2 separate regions of the Homo sapiens genome follow, and region 1 is linked to region 2. The links are contacts of gene promoters, found by promoter capture Hi-C in blood cells and fetal thymus (Javierre and others, 2016). All regions are on one chromosome and are shown on one strand. Each heading gives the region's core, a stretch centred on a gene start or on the middle of the fragment in contact. The rest is flanking DNA. Distances are from core to core; before and after follow the strand shown.

Region 1 (6,472 bases), core at 3,896-6,395, 110 kb after region 2:
GAGACTGGGTTTCACCGTGTTAGCCAGGCTGGTCTTGAACTCCTGACCTCGTGATCCGCCCGCCTCAGCCTCCCAAAGTGCTGGGATTACAGGTGTGAGCCACCACCCCCAGCCATTTTTTTAATGTTTAAGGAAAACTGCTGGGCAGTGAAGGTCTCCCCAGACAATGTCACTGAGCCCCGGCCTCCCCAACCTGGTCTGAGATTTCAGGGGGTTTCAGAAGAAGCTGACCTTTGAGAAGGCTCTGGGGCCAGGATGTCTGAGTTACTTGATGCTGGAGGGGTGGGGCAAGGAGGGTCTGGCCCTGGTGGTGCAGAGGAGGGGAGATGAGGGTGGGGAAGACACTTGAGGACGTGAGGAGTATTTTTAGGTGCTGAATGCAGCCCTGAAATATTTCCACGGCCACTCCCGAGAGCGAGCTGGGTGACTATTTCGGTGCCTGGTTCCAGTGGAGGCGGGGCAGGGGTGAGTCACTCACTGCCCAGTGGCCGCAGAGGCCAGGCCCAGGCTGGGAGGCGGCTCGAAGGGCAGGATCGCAGGCCTGCAAGGTGAACGGTCACTGGCCTGGGGCCAGGCTTCCTAAGCCAGCCTCCAGGGCACAGAGGACAGCGGCCTTTCTATTCCCCATGGCACTGGCCAATCCAGAGGGGCCACTGCCTGGGTGCCCTGGGACAATGAGCTGCTCACGCCAACCCCATAGTTGTAAAGATGGAGGGTCCCCCGTGAGGTTCTGGACACCCCACAGGTGCTAGGCGAGATGCCATCTTAGATTATTTCAAGCATTTATTGAGCACTTGCTGTATACCAGGCCAGTCCTAAAATGATTACTGGCATCCTCCCTTCATGCAATCTGCCCAATAACCCCCATGAGGTAGAGCTGCTGTTATCCCCCCGACCAGGGAGGAAACTGAGGCACGGTAGGGTTAAGCCCTCCAGGCACCTAACTATGTGCCTCAAATCCTGTCCCTCAGCTGATGTTACAATCAGGGGAGTGAGTTTTAAAGCAGCAGCCGATCTTGCTTACCCCCCACACCCTATTCCCAACCAATTTTGGGGTCCTGACTGTGCCTGAGCTGGGAGAAGGTCAATGGATCCTTCAGGTTTAAGGAGGCAGTGGAAAGAGGAGGTCACCATTGCTGTGTGACCTGGGGCAGGTTCCTCACCCTCTCTGTGCCTGAGCAGTGAATGACGATGCCACCCTATGGGTGAGTTCCGGAGCTGCCTGGCACACATTCATGATAGATAAACAATGGTTGGCTGAGCATACTGGCTCAGGCCTGTAATCCCAGCACTTTGGGAGGCTAAGGTGGGAGGATCGTTTGAGCCTAGGAGTTTGAGACCAGCCTGGACAACATGGTGAGACCCCTATCTGTAAAAAAAATAAAAAACAATTATCGGCTGTTGCTTGGATTGTGTGCCTGTCCTGAGCCTTCATTTCTCCATCTGTGAGGACCCTCGGAGGTGCTGGGTTGGAAGTGGCTTTGGAAACCCACGGGGCTGAGCGGCAAGGCTGAGTGGGAGCTCGGGGAATCCTCGCCCTCACTCGAAGTCTCCTTGAGAAGAGGCTGATGCTTGGCCGGGCGAGATGGCTTACGCCTGTAATCCCAGCACTTTGGGAGGCCGAGGCGGGCGGATTGCCCGAGGTCAGGAGTTCGAGACCAGCCTAGCCAACATGGCGAAATCCTGTCTCTACTAAAAAATGCAAAAATTAGCTGGGCGTGGTGGCGGACGCCTGTAATCCCAGCTATTCGGGAGGCTGAGGCAGGAGAATTGCTTGAACCTGAGAGACAGAGGTTTCAGTAAGTGGAGATCGCGCCACTGCCCTCCGGCCAGGGCGACAGAGTGAGACTTTGTCTCAAAAAAAAAAAAAAAAAAAAGAAGTGGCTGATGCCAAGCGTCAGGAACAGATCCCTGCAAGTGCCCACCCCAGCTCCTGTAGGGGCTTCTTTTTTATTTTATTTTATTTTATTTTTTCTTTTGAGACGGAGTCTTGCTCTGTCGCCCAGGCTGGAGTGCAGTGGCGTGATCTCCGATCACTGCAAGCTCCGCCTCCCTGGTTCGCGGCATTCTCCTGCCTCAGCCTCCCAAGTAGCTGGGACCACAGGCGCCCACCCGCCTTGCCTTCCCAAAGTGCTGGGATTACAGGCATGAGCCACCGCGCCCGGCCCTGTAGGGGCTTCTGGCCTGAGCCCTGACCCCCTCTGCCCCTTCCCCACAGAAGTTCAGAGGCTCCGTGCTTGCAGTTCCTCCACCTGTTCCGGCTCTCTCTGTGTGGCCAGCAGCTTCTTGTCCACTCGAGACTTGGTTTGACTGGACCTCCTCTTAAATTTTTAAAAAATTTTTAATTTATTATTAGTAGTATCATTTTTTTGAGACAGACTCTCGTTCTGTCGCCCAGGCTGGAGTGCAGTGGCGCTATCTTGGCTCACTGCAACCTCTGCCTCCTGGGTTTAAGCAATTCTCCTGCCTCAGCCTCCTGAGTAGCTGGGATTACAGGCACCACGTGCCACCACACCTGGCTAATTTTTGTATTCTTAGTAGAAATAAGGTTTCACCTCGTTGGCCAGGCTGGTCTCAAACTCCTGGCCTCAGGTGATCCGCCTGCCTCGACCTCCCAAAGTGTTGGAATTACAGTTGCCGCTGTGAGCCACAGCACCCAGCCGGCCTCCTCTTGCTCTGTGGAAAGGAGGTGCCACCTCGGGGTCCTGCACTTCCTGGGCAAGGCCAGCTGGTCAGCCTAGGCCCTGGCAGCCTCCTCCTCCCTGCCCTGAGGCCCCAGCACTGCCCCCTTCCTGCTTCCACCCCTGCTTCTGACTGTTCCAGAACCCTCTGTGGCTGCTTCTCATGTCACTCAGGGCCCACATCCTCCCCATTTCCTGCCCTTCTGTTTGCTCCTGTGTCCCCTGGGCACAGGGCCTTTGCACGGGACTGTCCTCCTGACCCCTGCTGGTCCAGAATGTTCTTTCCCAAGGTGGCTGGCTCCCTCGTCTCTCAGGCCCTTCCTGAATCTTCAGTGTCCTTCTCTCACCTTCCCTGACCACCTCTTCATTCACCTCCTCACGAGCCCGCCCTGTTTCTGGTTTCTTTTTCTTTTTTTTGAGAGTCTCGATCTGTCGCCCAGGCTGGAGTGCAGTGGCGCGATCTCAGCTCACTGCAACCTCCGCCTCCCAGGTTCAAGCGATTCTCCTGCCTCAGCCTTCTGAGTAGCTGGGATTACAGGTTTGTGCCATCACGTCCGGCTAATTTTTGTATTTTTAATAGAGATGGGGTTTCACCATGATGGCCAGGTTTTGAACTCCTTATCTCAGGTGATCCGCCCACTTCGGCCTCCCAAAGTGCTGGGGTTACAGGCATGAGCCACTGCGCCTGGCCTGGTTTCTTCTTTTTACAGCATTTATGCATTTGATATGCATATGCTTGTGGCTGGCTCACTCCTGTGGAAGGGAAGGATTGCCGGGGCTGTGTCACCAGCACCTGGGACAAGGCAAGTGGCCCTAGTGCCAGGCTCGTGCCAGGCCCTGGGCTCCAAAAGAAGAAGGTGGGGAGGGAGGTGACAGGGACACAGGCCATCTGGGGGTGGCTGTCAGAGTAGTGCTGGGAACAGCAGGTGAAGCCCAGAGGAGGAGAGGAGGAGGAGAGAGAGGAGGGGGATGGGGGATGGGAGTGGGGGATGAGTGGAGGAGGATGGAGGAGGAGGGGAATGGGGAGGAAGATGGGGAGTGAGAGGAGGGGGATGGGGGAGGAGAAGGAGAAGGAGGAGGAGGAGGAGGAGAGAGGGATGGCTTCCCACAGCTGCCTCTCGGGGGCCACTGCCCAAGGCCAGCCTCTGCACTTTTGTCCCTGAAGCGGGTGTTTGGCTCCAGGATGAGGTGGCGTCAGCAGCCGACCCGGGCCTGTCGCACTCTGGCGGGGGACTGTGGGCTGGCCCTGCAGAGCTCAGCCCCCGGCTGAGTCACAGCACAGCGCCAGGCGTGGGCCTCCCTAACAGAAAGCAAACTCCAGGCGAGAAGGTCTGGGGGCGGGTGGGGACCATCTACGATAAAGGCAGCCCCAGTTGGGTGAGGAGGGCACAGACCATCGGAGGGACAGAAAGACCTGGAAGCCTTGGATTTAGGAACTAGACTGGTGCTTTTGGTTTCTTTTCTTGTTGAGGGGGCTGAGGATGAGGCTTTGTGAAACCAACCAGGAAGAATGAAACACAGAGCTGGTCCGACACCCAGCTCGAGGGAGGGGGGCCGGAAGCTTCTGGAAGTTGGCTGCCCCTAAGCAGGGGCCACTCTAGCCCACAAGGCCAAGTTGGCAGAGGCAGACGAGGGGACTCTGCGGCTCAAGTCACGGGCCAGGAGCCCGCAGCTGCCGGGCTGGAAAGGTCAGAGCCGGCTCTGCGTCTGGCTGCGCCGGCAAGAAGCCACAATTACGCAGGCAAAAGAGCCCGGGGATTAGCCCCAGCACCTGGGACCCTGAATGGTGAGAAGGCACCTAGGGGGTGTTGGAACACATTCTGAGTTCAGAGCCTGGTCAGGGAGAAAAAACCAAACGGAGATCAGGAAGGGGAAGGGGCCTTCGAGGGCTTTCCCATCCCAACTTCCCAGGATGCCTGACCCCAGAGCTCCTGGATTTGATCCACGCCTCGTGACACACACAACCCCTGGGAGGAAGGAGCCCAGGCCCCTTGGAGAGCCCCAGAGGCCTCTAAGGGCCGGTGAGTCTAGGACATGGGGCAGGAGCTGCAAATGGGGCCTCCCTGCTCCCCACCCTTCCTTCCCTCCTCCTCTAAACATTGCCCCACCCACCTCGCCCTGTGAGCCCAGCCCCCTGCACGGCCCACACTGTAGGGGCATGGGGTGTGCCAAGAGATGCTCCTGTCGACCAGGCGCAGTGGCTCATGCCTGTAATCCCAGCACTTTGGGAGGCCAAGGCGGGAGGATCACTTGAGATCAGGAGTTCAAGACCAGCCTCGCCAACATGGTGGAACTGTGTCTGTACTAAAAATACAAAAATTAGCCGTCTGTGTTGGTGCACACCTGTAATCCCAGCTACTCAGGAGGCTAAGGCAAGAGAATCGCTTGAACACACGAGGCAGAGGTTGCAGTGAGCCAAGATTGTGCCACTGCACTCCAGCCTGGGCAACAGAGCGAGACTCCGTCTCAAAAAAAAAAAAAAAATGCTCTTGTCCAACAGGCAGGTGGGTGCCGTGGGCCGGTGCATCCCAAGGCTTCCAGGCCCGGGCCCCCAACTGCTGCCCCTGCCTGTGTTGAGGGGGCGGGTTTGTGAGGTTCAGGGCAGGCCACATCCTGGACCCCACATGCCCCATCTCTAACCATCAATCAAGTGCCGCTGTGGCGGAGAGGATTCAGGCGACTGCAGATATCCATCCCTGTCCCCCACCCCACACACAAGGAGAACATCCCAGGCGAGGACATTGTAAATGCAAAATCTATACGATGGCAAGTAACTCTGAAGACTCAAGAAAAAGAGTTCCTCACGGACGGGACCTTTTATTCCAATCACCTCTCAAAATAGGTCTCCGAACGAGGACCCTGAAGAGAAGGCTATGCAGGGGGACGGGCCGCTGCCTGGCTCAGGGCTTCCCTCTGGTTTCTTCACGGTCCACAGATGCTACCCGGAGCCTTTCTCGAAAGCGCTGACTCAGTGTCTCAGGTGCGCGCCCGAGGAGTGGCAAACCCGGCCTGGCTCAGAAAGGGGGCAGGAGCCTCGTGAGAATCTTCCATGAGCATCTTCCGAGGGGATTCCTGTCCTGTCTTCTCTGTGTGAACGCCAGTGTGGACAGATGAGGATAGATGATGGAGTCCAGGCCACCCAGGAGGGGGTGATGGGGACCATGCGTGGCCCCTGCCTGGGACTTCCCTCCCCACACACCCCTTGGCATTAACGTCTCCACAGAGGGGAGAGGGTTATAGGACAACCTGGTGTGGGGGGCGCCGGGGACTCTCAAGAGCCCCCACTGTCCAGATGCTGGTCTTGCCTTTTGTAAAAGGACATCAGTGCCTCACTGTGCCGCTGACACCTGGTGAGAACTCTCAAAAGGAAGCTTCCCTTACGGGAACGGGGATTTCCTGAGAGTCCAGCGATGGACAGAGGGCAGGAGACCCGCTAGGTGCACCCAGAAGCTCAAAAGGAACAGTGGATGTGCAGTGTGTAGTTTTATTTGTTTTTATTTCCATAACACAAGAGAGGAAGCGAAGGGCCAGGGCCCGAGGCATCCCCTGCACGGTTCGAAGGCTTTCAACCGTCCCGGGTTTGTTTTGAAGGCAATTTTGGGGCCGCGCCCAAGGAAACCCTGCAGGCTGTCAGTCCCAGCATGAACAGCTTAAAATAAAAATCTCCCGTCTGGTTGCTGCTCGGAGAGGCTCCAAGAAATGCAAAACAAACCCGCCTGGAAAATGCTGCCCTGAGAACCAGAGCGAGGGCTTGAAAGATGCCTTCAACACAGACTCTTCTAGGAATCCAG
Region 2 (6,698 bases), core at 3,339-5,838:
TGAGATAGAGTCTAGCTCTGTCGCCAGGCTGGAGTGCAAGTGGCACGATCTTGGCTCACTGCAACCTCCACCTCCCCGGGTTCACGCCATTCTCCTGCCTCAGCCTCTCTGAGTAACTGGGACTACGGGCGCCCGCCACCACACCCGTCTAATTTTTTGTATTTTTAGTAGAGACGGGGTTTCACTGTGGTCTCGATCTCCTGACCTCATGATCCGCCCACCTCGGCCTCCCAAAGTGCTGGGATTACAGGCGTGAGCCACCGCACCGGCCTTATTATTATTATTATTTTTTAAGATATTCTGTAGTTATGGATTGGAAAAATCCATATTGTCAAAATGTCCATACTACACAAAGCAACCTACAGATTCAATGCAATTTCCATCAAAATACAATACCAATGACATTCTTCACACAAAACAGAAAGAACAGTTCTAAAAAACAGTCCTAAATTTATATGAAATCACAAAAGACCTTGAATAGCCAAAACTATCCTGAGCAAACAGAACAAAACTGGAGGAATCCCATTACCCAACATTCAATTATACTATAGATCTACAGTAACAAAAACAGCATAGTACCAGCACAAAAATAGACACATACATAAATGGAACAGAATGGAGAACCCAGAACCAAATCCATACATCTACATTGAATTCTTTTTTACTATTATTATACTTTAAGTTCTGGGATCCATGTGCAGAACGTGCAGAAGGTGCAGGTTTGTTACATAGGTATGTATACACGTGCCATGGTGGTTTGCTGCACCCATCAACCGGTCATCTACATTAGGTATTTCTCCTAATGCTGGCCGGGTGCGGTGGCTCACGCTTGTAATCCCAGCACTTTGGGAGGCCGAGGCGGGCTGATCACGAGGTCAGGAGATCGAGACCAAGGTGAAACCCCGTCTCTACTAAAAATACAAAAAATTAGACGGGCGTGGTGGCGGGCGCCTGTAGTCCCAGTTACTCGGAGAGGCTGAGGCAGGAGAATGGCGTGAACCCGGGAGGCGGAGCTTGCAGCCAGCCGAGATCGCGCCACTGCACTCCAGCCTGGATGACAGAGCGAGACTCCGTCTCAAAAAAAAAAAAAAAAAAAAGAAGTTATTTCTCCTAATGCTATCCCTCCCCTATCCCACCCTCTGACAGGTCCCGGAATGTGATGTTCCCCTCCCTGTGTCCATGTGTTCTCATTGTTCAACTCCCACTTTCTTTTTCTTTTTTTTTTTTTTTGAGACAGTCTGGCTCTGTCACCCAGGCTGGAGTGCGGTGGCGCAATCTCGGCTCACTGCAGCCTCTGCCTCCAGGGTTCAAGCGACTCCCCTGCCTCACCCTCCGGAGTAGCTGGAATCACAGGTGGGGGCCACCACACCCAGTGGTTTGTTTGTTTGTTTGTTTGTTTGTTTGTTTGTTTTTTGAGACGGAGTCTCGCCCTGTTGCCAGGCCGGAGTGCAGTGGTGAGATCTCGGCTCACTGCAACCTCCACCTCCCGGGTTCAAGCGATTCTCCTGCCTCAGCCTCTTGAGTAGCTGGGACTACAGGCGTGTGCCACCGTGCCCAGCTCATTTTTGTATTTTTAGTAGAAACGGTGTTTCACCGTGTTGACCAGATTGGTCTCAATCACTTGGCCTCATGATTCGGACGCCTTGGCCTCCCTAAGTACTGGGATTACAGGCCTGAGCCACCTCGCCCGGCATTGATCAGGTTTTTTTTGTATTGTTCTGTTTATTTGTCCCACTTTACGAAACTCACTGTTCTCCTATTGCCCAGGGGGACATGTCATTTTATCTATTCTCAGTAACTCATGCCTGTAATTCCAGCACTTTTGGATGCAAAAGTGGGCGGATTGCTTCAGTACAGTTCAAGGCTAGCCTGGGCAACATAGTGAGACCCTGTCTCTACTAAAGAGGAAAAAAAAACAAAACCTTTCTTTAAATAAAAGTTTTAAATTGGGGGAAGGAAGGAAGAAGGCTCTATCTCAAAAAAAAAATCAGAAAACCATGAAGGGTGTCCTCTGACTGGGCAAATTTTTGTTGTAAAAACCCATATTGTAGGCTGGGCATGGTGGCTCACTCTTGTAATCCCAGCACTTTGGGAGGCCGAGGCAGGTGGATTTGAGATCAGGGGTTCAAGACCAGCCTGAGTAACATGGTGAAACCCCGTCTCTACAAAACTACAAAAAATAGCTAGGCATGGCGGCGGGTGCCTGTAATCCCAGCTACTCATGAGGCTGAGGCAGGAGAATCGCTTGAACCTGGAAGGCAAATGTTGCTGTGAGCTGATATTGTGCCACTGCACTCCAGCCTGGGCAACAGAGTAAGACTCCGTCTCAAAAAAAAAAAAAAGCCATATTTCAGTTTTACTTTTTACAGGCCAACAAATGGCATGATTGTGTTTCAATGACGTTTGGCTTATTCTATGACCTGAAAATTATATGAAATGCAAATTTGTGTCCATAAGTAAAACTTTATTGAAACACAATCATGCCATTTGTTGACAAAAAGAGTGAAACTCTGTAAAATATGGGCCGGGCGCGGTGGCTCACGCCTGTAATCCCAGCACTTTGGGAGGCCGAGGCGGGCGGATCATGAGGTCAGGAGATCGAGACCATCCTGGCTAACACGGTGAAACCCTGTCTCTACTAAAAATATAAAAAATTAGCCGGGTTTGGTGGCGGGAACCTGTAGTCCCAGCTACTCGCCAGGCTGAGGCGGGAAAATGGCGTGAACCCGGGAGGTGGAGCTTGCAGTGAGCCAAGATCGCGCCACTGCACTCTAGCCTGGGCCACAGAGCGAGACTCTCTCAAAAAAAAAAAAGAAACTCCGTAAAATATTTAAAGAGGTTAATTCTGAGCCAAACGTGAGTGACCACGGCCCTAGGCACAGCCTTTTTTTTTTTTTTTTTTTTTTTTTTTTGAGACAGTCTCGCTCTGTGGCCCAGACTGGAGCTATCTCGGTTCACTGCAACCTCCACCTCTCGGGTTCAAGAGATTACCCTGCCTCAGCCTCCCGAGTGGCTGGGATTACAGGCGCCCACCACCACGCCCCTGGCTAATTTCTGTATTTTTAATAGAGATGGGGTTTTACCATGTTGGCCAGGCTGGTTTTGAATTCCTGACCTCAGGTGATCCAGCTGCCTCCGCCTCCCAAACTGTTTGGGATTACAGGCGTGAGCCACTGCGCCTGGCCAATCCCCACCTTCTTGACTGACCATTTAAAAAATGTAAGAAACACCTTTAGCTCATCATGAGCAGCACAAAACAGGCAGGGACAGGATTTGGCCCTGAGGCAGGAGAATAGGTCTGGAGGCAGGGAACATAAGGCCAAATCAAATGGAAACAATTCAGCTATGACAGGAAATATCTTCTCCATTTAAAGAGGGCATACATCCAGTAAATGACTTTGTAACTTTACTTCATCCTCTTCATTTACATAGGACGTACATTAAGTAACCAGTGAAAACCTCTAGAGGGCATTTAAACCCCAGAAAATTCTTAAACAGGTCTCTTGAGTCCGTATGCTCCACTGGCTCCCACCCTGCGGAGTGTACTTTCGTTTTCAATAAATCTCTGCTTTTGTTAAGCTTCATTCTTTCCTTGCTTTGTTTGTGCACTTTGTCCAATTCTTTGTTCAAGATGCCAAGAACCTGCACACCTTCAACAGTTAACAGCCCACAGGCAGTAGTTTGCGACTCTAGTAGAGAATGCATAGGGATTTCCATTGAAAATCATTTTTTAAGCCAGTTACGGTGGTTCACGCCTATCATCATCCCAGCACCTTGGGAGGCCAAGGCGGGTGGATCTCTTGAGGTCAGGAGTTCGAGACCAGCCTGGCTAACATGGCAAAACCCCTGTCTAGACCAAAAATACAAAATTAGTTGGGCGTGGTGGCCCGTGCCTGTAATCCCAGCTGTTTGGGAGGCTGCGACACGAGAATCGCTTGAACCCGGGAGGGAGAGGTTGCGGTGAGCCGAGATCGCGCCACCGCACTCCAGCCTGGGTGACAGAGCGAGACTCCATTTCAAAAAAAGAAAAAAAATAATTGTTCCCTACGGGAACGGTATAATTAGGATATAATTGTTTCTGGCCACAGATCACATCCCTTCTGGTTAAGTCCAGGAGAATCTGGAAATACGTAGGGCAACCAGGCCAGAAGGCGTTGTAACTGCCTAAGATTGACCAACCCTAACGCGGGAGGCGGGACGACGGTCACTGATTTGCCAGCGTGACGCCGGTCTGCGACTGGCCAGTGCCGTCCTGGGCGTGTCGGTAGGACGGGGCTGCGACGGTTTCCCATAGGCTGGCACAGAAAGGGGCGGGGAAACAAGAGTGCAACGTTACCAATCGGCATGCGGGACGTAACGCAATTCTTTTTTCCGATTGGTCCGTGAAGCTCGGGAGGTCGTTGGGGGCTCGACCTTGGGATAGAACGCCTGCCTTTTATTGGTCAATACTCTTCGGGCCGGGCAATGTGGCTCCCCGAGGCTGCCTGCGATTGGTGAACGCGTCGCGGCTCGGGGCGGACCTGCGGACTGAAGATCCTTATGCGATTGGCCGGGGAGCCGGAGGGGCGGGCAATTTGGGATCGACAGTGACTCGCGACTGGTCGGCGCGGCGAAAGCAGAGCGGCGCGCCGGTTCCTTGGTTCCTGAGGGCGATGGCGCGGGGTGGCTGGCGCCGGCTACGCCGCCTGTTATCCGCGGGGCAGCTTCTATTCCAGGGCCGCGCGCTGCTCGTCACTAACACGCTGGGCTGCGGCGCGCTCATGGCGGCCGGTGATGGCGTGCGCCAGTCCTGGGAGATCCGCGCCCGGCCCGGCCAGGTTTTCGACCCACGGCGCTCCGGTGAGGACGCCACGCTGCTTAGTCCTTCACCCCGGGCGACCTTTGATCCCGACACCCGACTGCGGGCCGTGACCCCTGACCCGTGGCCTCAGTCCCCCGCAGGACCCTTGCCCTGACCGCGCCTCTCCCCGGGTGTCTGTCTCCCCGCAGCTCTGGGTCTCCATCACCTCCCAACCCCCGGAGGTCTCTGCCCACTACCCAGGAGCCTCTGGAGCCGCGCCTCCTGGTGGGGCTTGTAGTGGAAGAATGCACGGGTGGGCTCTTCCGGTTTTCCCGGTGAGGCTGAGGCTCCGGGATGGCATTGGGCTTACCCAGGCCTTAGCCAGGGAGGGAGAGAGGGAATGGACTGAGGAACTTGCCGGCCCGACCCAGCCCCCTGACTTACACTCTTATAGCGAGCATGTTTGCGGTGGGCTGCAGCATGGGTCCCTTCCTGCACTACTGGTACTTGTCGCTGGACCGCCTATTCCCTGCGTCTGGCCTCCGAGGCTTCCCAAATGTCCTCAAGAAGGTCCTCGTGGATCAGCTGGTAGCCTCTCCATTGCTGGGCGTCTGGTACTTCTTGGGTAAGGAGCCTCCTAAGCCTAGGCTTTGCCTCTCATAGGTCGGGAGGGGTGGAGCCAGCTTTGTGTTAAGAAGGATGCAGAGGTGCATTTCCAATTTGCCCCCTGTTTGGGTCGCCCTGGACTAGGAGCCAGGTCACAGCGGGGACAGGACGGACTCGGCCGATGTGAACGCTGGCGAGTGTAGGAGGGACGAGGACTGTATCTGTTGGGGCTGCCCTGGGCGGGAGGTTGAGAGCATTTCCCAAAGAAGGGGACCACACTCAGTTGAGACATGAAGAGGGAACCAGCGGGCAGAGGGAACAGCTAATGCAAAGGCTCTGAGGCCTGAAGGAAGAGAAATTGAGGCTAGACTTAATGGGGTGCAACCGTGCCAGCCCTAGGCTCGGTAAAGACAGCGGTATTAATAGAGGAGTCTCTCATTCTCCACCTCCCAGCCCGGCTTCCTGGTCTGTGATGGAAAAGTAACACAACTCCCTCAACTTCAGGGTGTCTCCATTGGGGCACGTGTTTATATGTTTATAACCTCTCTTTCTCTCACTGGGACTGACTTGCTCTGTTTTGTCTCTACACCAGCTACCCTAATTCTCTGTCCATCCCATCTGAAAGTCCCTGTCCCTCTGCCCGGGGTGGGCGGCGTGGGCTCTCAGGGGCCCAACCCCGCCCCCTCCATCGTCAGCCCATCTTGTCGTCTCAACAGTACTTCCTGGCCTCTAACACTCTCATTTCTTGGTTTGCTTCCCAGGCCTTGGCTGCCTGGAGGGTCAGACAGTGGGTGAGAGCTGCCAGGAGCTGCGGGAGAAGTTCTGGGAATTCTACAAGGTGGGAGCACCCGCCCCTTGCACATGTCCGGCCCCGCCCCCTGATGGCCGCTCCGCCCCCGCCCAGCTCTGGCCCCGCCCCTCATCCCCCGCCTCTCCCCGCAGGCAGACTGGTGCGTGTGGCCTGCTGCGCAGTTCGTGAACTTCCTCTTCGTGCCCCCCCAATTTCGAGTCACCTACATCAACGGCCTGACGCTGGGCTGGGACACGTACCTGTCCTACTTGAAGTACCGGGTGAGTGTGGAGGGCATACCAGGCACCCAGGGGACTCCCCAGGGGGCTACACGTGTGAGCTCCAAGTGGCAGTGTAGCCAGCCACCCTGGAGGGTGGGAGTCTCCTGTGCTCCTGACAACCCACACCCAACAGTGGGCTGGCGGAGAGCTCCTCACTAGCAGTTAAGACCCAGCCGTGGCTGAGCGCCGTGGCTCATGCCTGTAATCCCAGCACTTTGGGAGGCCGAAGCGGGTGGATCGC

The links. The method cuts DNA at HindIII sites, captures the fragments that hold promoters and counts their contacts. A CHiCAGO score of 5 or more calls a contact.
Region 1: a fragment that was not itself captured here is called in contact with the fragment with the promoter of MPV17L2 in region 2 in 2 of 17 cell types (monocytes and total B cells); the score reaches 5.8 in monocytes.

What each region holds. Positions count from the first base shown.
Region 1 is chr19:18,300,758-18,307,229 of GRCh38, forward strand. LSM4 (LSM4 homolog, U6 small nuclear RNA and mRNA degradation associated) reads right to left here. Exons shown (of 5, transcript NM_012321.5): 5 at 5,479-6,472. Among named protein-coding and RNA genes, the nearest start is that of LSM4, 19 kb to the right of the region's middle. RefSeq lists a cis regulatory region at 293-712 and enhancers at 3,942-4,321, 4,212-4,717, 6,184-6,472. The HindIII fragment of the contact is 1,810 bases long and covers 4,241-6,050 here.
Region 2 is chr19:18,188,630-18,195,327 of GRCh38, forward strand. It overlaps MPV17L2 (MPV17 mitochondrial inner membrane protein like 2), which reads left to right and starts at 4,589. Exons shown (of 5, transcript NM_032683.3): 1 at 4,589-4,839; 2 at 5,235-5,405; 3 at 6,148-6,224; 4 at 6,329-6,457. The coding sequence starts at 4,653. RefSeq lists a silencer at 4,114-4,293 and an enhancer at 4,684-4,733. The HindIII fragment of the contact is 3,564 bases long and covers 3,578-6,698 here.